2 separate regions of the Homo sapiens genome follow, and region 1 is linked to region 2. The links are contacts of gene promoters, found by promoter capture Hi-C in blood cells and fetal thymus (Javierre and others, 2016). All regions are on one chromosome and are shown on one strand. The core of a region is centred on a gene start or on the middle of the fragment in contact, and the rest is flanking DNA. Distances in the headings are between cores, read along the strand shown. Region 1 has its middle 73 kb from the start of LINC02420. Region 2 holds the start of DYRK2 (dual specificity tyrosine phosphorylation regulated kinase 2).

Region 1 (2,829 bases), core at 244-2,743, 280 kb before region 2:
GAGGGAGTCTCCCTTTCTATTCTGCAGATACCATTTAGGCTCTGCCTCAATTATTACTGCAGAGACATAGTCCTTTAAAGATTTTATTCTTTATTAGAAGTCCAATGCACTATCCATTGTGCCACAGAGCCACTTTAAAGATTTTGTTCTAAATGCCCTTGTACACATTTTCTTATTTGAAAATTACAATAGCCTAGTCACTTAAAATATGTCAGAGATCATTTATCTCTACCGTGCCGATGAGGAAGCTGAGACTCTTATTGAGACTCATTTTTCTAAGGTGCTAGATCTTGATCTTGAACCGTGTTCTTGTGATTTTATGTTGTCCTTCCTACCCTTTGTTGGAATCTATTCATTGTAAAATGTGAAGGACTAATAGTATTTTTTAAAATTCTTTATTATTAACTGTGCATACATATGTGAAAATATAGAGAGTAGAATAATAAACTCATGTATCTATTATCCAGATTCAACAATTACTAGATTTGGCCAGGCACCTTGGCTTTTCATCTTACATATTTTAGTTTGTATGTTTTTAAAAAATAGACATATTTGCCTGGGCACTGTGGCTCGTGCCTGTAATCCCAACACTTTGGGAGGTCGAGGTGGGCAGATCACCTGAGGTCAGGAGTTCAAGACCAGCCCGGACAACATGGTGAAACCCTGTCTCTACTGAAAATACAAAATTAGCTGGGCATGGTGGCGCATACCTGTAATCCCAGCTACTAGGGGGGCTGAGGCAGGAGAATCGTCTGAACCCAGGAGGCAGAGGTTGCAGTGAGACGAGATCGCGCCATTGCACTCCAGCCTGAGTGACAGAGCGAGACTCCATCTCAAAAAAAAAAAAAGAAAAAGAAAATAGACATATTCTTGTGTAGCCACAATGACATTATCATACCTAACAGAATTAATAATTATTCCTTGGTATCATCTAATAGCCACTTCATATTCAAATTTCCTAATTTGTCTAAAAAAATTCTTTTATTGTGGCTGTGTTCAAGTCAGGGTTAAAAAAAAGTTTTCATTCTATTATCCCCTCTTTCTCCTTATTTTCAACTTCTTTACTTCTGTCTACTCTATTGTTTGAAAGCTTACTGACACATTCACCATCTTTAAACACACATACAATACACACACATGTGCATGCACATGCACACATAGACATATTTGCTGTTGGGGAATCAGGTGGCAGCTAGCATGGCCCTTGTGCTCCAAGAAGCTGATAAGAAACATCTACGAGAAACAGTAGTGAGATAGTGCTAAGGTAGAATTACAAGGTTAGGCAAGTCTTATTTATTCAGAAATATTCTTTTGAGAACCTGATATATACCAGATTCTGTACTATCTACTAGAGATAAAAGTGAGGATTAAGTTTAAAGTGGCAGGTTGGGAACACACATTAAATAAATAGCCATAAAGGGCATTATTGCATGTTGTCTTCTAATCGCTTCTACATGTCCCATCTTTCAGGGTTGACTTGCTTTGGGTAATATATCTCTGAAATGAAGAGCATCAGTTCTCATCGTATTCAATTCTCGTCATTTTCACATAAAGCTCTGTGTATTTTGGATAGTTCTAGCTTTGTTAAATGAACAACTGAGGTCTTCATTGCATGTAACTGTAACCCTTTGATTCCTTTCACTATTATTTACTTTCATCTTTCATTGTATTTGGTTTTTATTTCTTATGAAGGATAAAATTTGGATTTAGGCCTGTGATATTGAACAAGCTGGATGGCTGTTAGAGATAGAAAGCCAACTGCTTGCCTGAACAGTTTTACAATAGCACTGACAGAATATTAATTTTGGTTGCTGTATTAGATAATGCTTGCCATGTAGCAAACATGTCCCAAAATGTACAAGTTCTTTATTTAGAACTGCAGTTTTCTTATCACATATAAGCTTATGTATGATAATAAGAAGATGTTATGATATGTTTCTCCTAGGACTTCTGTAAAGAAATAATGCATATTGACATATTTTACAAACTAACGTGCCAAACAAGTGTTAGTATCAACAGCAGGCACAGGGATGGCAGCGGCATCAGCAGTGGTAGTAGTAGTTACCATGACTCTTGTCAAAATGTCAGTAAACCATCCCTCCGAATCTCTGAGCCTGGGATTGTTGTCAGAATGCAAAGTTGAGAAAGAAAATCTGGTGATCTCATTCCTGTTTTTGATACAGCAGTGGTTCACTTCCTACAGGAGTCTGTGATTTGTAAGAGTTAATAGTTTCATTCAGGGAAAGCCTGAGATAATGAGAAAACTCTTCTGTATTCATTGGCCTCTACTTTGTTTTATGATAGAAGGTGCCCTTGGGAACACTGCACTGATACTAAAAATTTATCTTCTTCCTCTCTATTCATTGCTAGATATTATTTATGCTTATGCTTGTTTATTTTTCTTTAGTGGCCTCTGAATAGATTTGTATTTTTATAATGTGTGGTACTTAATAATTACAGCTATGAGCAATTTGTAAAAAAATTTGCTGGATGTTCTTCTAAGTTCTACTGCAGTGGGCATGAAATGAGTGAGCACAGGAACCAACAGGGGGAATGTAATAAAATGTCATGTTCTAGGGCCAACTGTTATACATTGAATTGTAGATCTGAGAAAGGTTTAGTCATCAGGGATATTGGTTAAGTTTTTCTGCTCAGTTAACTTTTTAAGTATGCACTCTTGTGTTTATTTTTAGTGATTACCCTAGAAATTTTAAAATGCATTCCTGACTAACTATAAAACACCTTCCTTAAGCTTCACCCAAACAATGAAAAAGCTTATGATGGTTTAACTGTAGTTACTGCCTCTTACCCTTTGTGCTATTGTAGTCA
Region 2 (2,700 bases), core at 57-2,556:
GTAGAGTGGATGAAACTCCGCAGGAGGTGGCTCCCTTCCGACTGGAGTCTGCACTAGTTCGGGCCTGCACAGTAGGTCCAGCCAGGAGCCAGAGATACTCGGGCGGGGCAGAGCATAATGGACCCCTGGCCCCAAGAGAACTTCAGAAACTAGGCACCTCTCGAGAAGGAAGTGCATGGCATAACTCTGCCCCGTCATCCGGGATTTGTCGGGCTTTCCCACCCCACCTCCTCTCACAGTTGAAGTGGCAAAACCTGTGACCTTTGAACAGAGGCGCACTGTGTGCCACGCACGACGAGGCGCGGATGTGAGACGGGAAAGCAATTTTTTTTTGGTCTTCAAGGAAAAGAGAGGTTGTATATGGCGAATAAAAAAGGCAGGGAAATTCTCCACGTGTCTTGGAAGGGAAGGGGGAAAGAGATGTGTCGGGTGGGGTGAGAGGAATTCGAGGTGTCGCTCCCTCACCGCAGAGCTGAAAGGAAGGTGTGTCTCTCCCAGTGGCCGCGCAGGGGAAAGGCTCGGAGTTGTAAGGAAATAGGAGATGTCTCTGATGTTTATTTTTGCCTAGCAACCCACAGCCAACTGCTTCCCCAGCTGCCGTCCACACGCGCCTCTCTGCCTCCCCTTGTCCTAGCGACTGGCGAGCGGTCACTTGGTGTCAGTAAACCGGGGAGGGTGTGTGGTGGAGGTGGGAGGGCAGCCCCCTCTTTCGCCCCTGCTCAGGGTCAACGAGCTCAGCGGCCGCCCCTCCCGGGACTTGCCTCTCCGAGGTGACCCTCGCACAACTAAGTTATCTACATGATGAATTGGGGAGAGGGGAGTGGCTAAGTCGCTGGGACCAAGAATGGGGGGACGGGGAAGCAGTACTGTCTGTGAGCAGCCATTCAGTTCGAAGAGCTGAAAATGCATTTATGTTTAGGGGTGCGCATGGCAGGGGAGGGGTCTCTGCGGCGCTTTCGGCCGGAGGGCAGCAGCGGTAGGTTGAGCTGTAGGGCAGAGAAGGGGCGCCGCGGGGCCGGGGAGGGGAAAAGGTCGCCGGAGTGGAGCCGAGGGAAGCAGTGCAGATGGCCGGAGGGGGCGGAGGAGGGCGAGCGGAGGCCGCCGAGTTTTCCGGGGAGCGGAGGGGCGGCTGCGCGCAAACCGGGGGACTGAGAGGAGCCGGGCGGGAGGTTGGGTGGGGGTGGGGTGTGCGTGGCCGCGGCCGGGGGAGCCGGGGGCGGGGCCTGCGGCGGCGGAGGAGGGCGGCGGAGGGCGGCGGGGGCGGGGCCGCGCGCCGGCGCCTGTGTGTGAGTGCGCGGGGGCGCGCGCGCGCGGGCCCGGGAGAGGCTCCCGAGCCAGGCGGTCTTCGGTCCTCGCAGCGCTTCCAGCTCCCCGCGCCCCTATGTGAGGGAGACGGGGAGGCCCGCGGCGCGCAGGGGAGGGCGAGGCATGTGCACGGGCCGGAGGGTGCTGCAGCCGCCCGAGGAAGAGGAGGACGGCGGCGAGGAGGAGAGCGGGGGGCTCGCGGCGGCGGGCCCCGGCCGAGGGGATGCAGTGGACTGTGTGTGTCTGGCTGTAGCAGACGCGAGGCGGCGACGAGGCGCCGGGGACCCGCGCGAGGGGCGGCCGGGAGGCGGCGGCGGCGGCCGCCAGAAGTAGCAGCAGGACCGGCGGCGGCGACGGCAGCCCTGAAATGCATTTTCCTCTCCAGCGGCCATGTTAACCAGGAAACCTTCGGCCGCCGCTCCCGCCGCCTACCCGACCGGTAAGGAGGCCGTGCCGCCGCGCCGCATCCCCGGACCCCCGCCGGCCCTGGGCAGCCCCTGTGGCGCGGGCGGCCGCTGCCTGCGGGACCTCGAACAAAGTCGGCGGCGCGGCGCGGGGGAGCCCCCGGGCGGACGACGCGCCCCGGGCTCCATGCAGGGTTGTGCGCGGCCCCGAAGGCCCCTCCGCGGGGAGCCCTCGGCCCGAAGAGGCTTCTGCCTGCCGGGGGCCCGGGCGGGGACCGTCCAGGCCTGCCGCCCCGCCCTGCGCTGCCCGGGGCTTGGCGTGGCCGTGGCTCCCTGCTCAGCTGTCCAAACCCACCTCCCGGCTGCTGGCCGTCTGCAACGTGGGCCGCCTAGCCCCGGCGCGGCCCGGCTCCCCCGCCGGGTCGCGAACTCGCGCGCCAGGGCCCCACTTAACTTTGCAGCTGCCCGCGCCCCGCCCGTGGGTGTGCGCTGGGGAGCCGTGACCCGAACGCCCGTTTTTACTGCCCCGGTCTCTTCCTCCGTCTTTCTTTGGAAGAGGGTTGTCGCTGCCCAGCGGGGTTGGAGGGGGGGTCTGGGTGACTTTCTCCCCCCTGACCCTCTTTTGTCTCCTCCCGCACGTGGCTTCCAGGCCGAGGTGGGGACAGCGCCGTTCGTCAGCTTCAGGCTTCCCCGGGGCTCGGTGCAGGGGCCACCCGGAGCGGAGTGGGGACTGGCCCGCCCTCCCCCATCGCCCTGCCGCCTCTCCGGGCCAGCAACGCTGCCGCCGCAGCCCACACGGTGAGACCCAGCCCGCGGGCGGCCCGGGCGGTGGGGGCGGGAGGGGCCCCAGGCCGAAGCACCCGGACTTGGAGGGGTCTGACGCCGGGAGAAGAGGGGTCGAGATACAAGCAGCCCCACGCCTCGGGCCGATGGTCTCTCGTCGACGCCGCCCTGGTTAAGTTGGGCGAGCCCAAAGCTGCAGCCACAAAGG

Evidence for each region. The method cuts DNA at HindIII sites, captures the fragments that hold promoters and counts their contacts. A CHiCAGO score of 5 or more calls a contact.
Region 1: a fragment that was not itself captured here is called in contact with the fragment with the promoter of DYRK2 in region 2 in 1 of 17 cell types (M2 macrophages); the score reaches 5.4 in M2 macrophages.

The regions. Positions count from the first base shown.
Region 1 is chr12:67,368,561-67,371,389 of GRCh38, forward strand. No RefSeq gene overlaps it. Among named protein-coding and RNA genes, the nearest start is that of LINC02420, 73 kb to the right of the region's middle. The HindIII fragment of the contact is 811 bases long and covers 1,089-1,899 here.
Region 2 is chr12:67,647,439-67,650,138 of GRCh38, forward strand. DYRK2 (dual specificity tyrosine phosphorylation regulated kinase 2) reads left to right here and starts at 1,307. Exons shown (of 3, transcript NM_006482.3): 1 at 1,307-1,744; 2 at 2,359-2,507. The coding sequence starts at 1,696. RefSeq lists silencers at 970-1,079, 1,180-1,479, 1,490-2,149, 2,310-2,699. The HindIII fragment of the contact is 7,364 bases long and covers 1-2,700 here.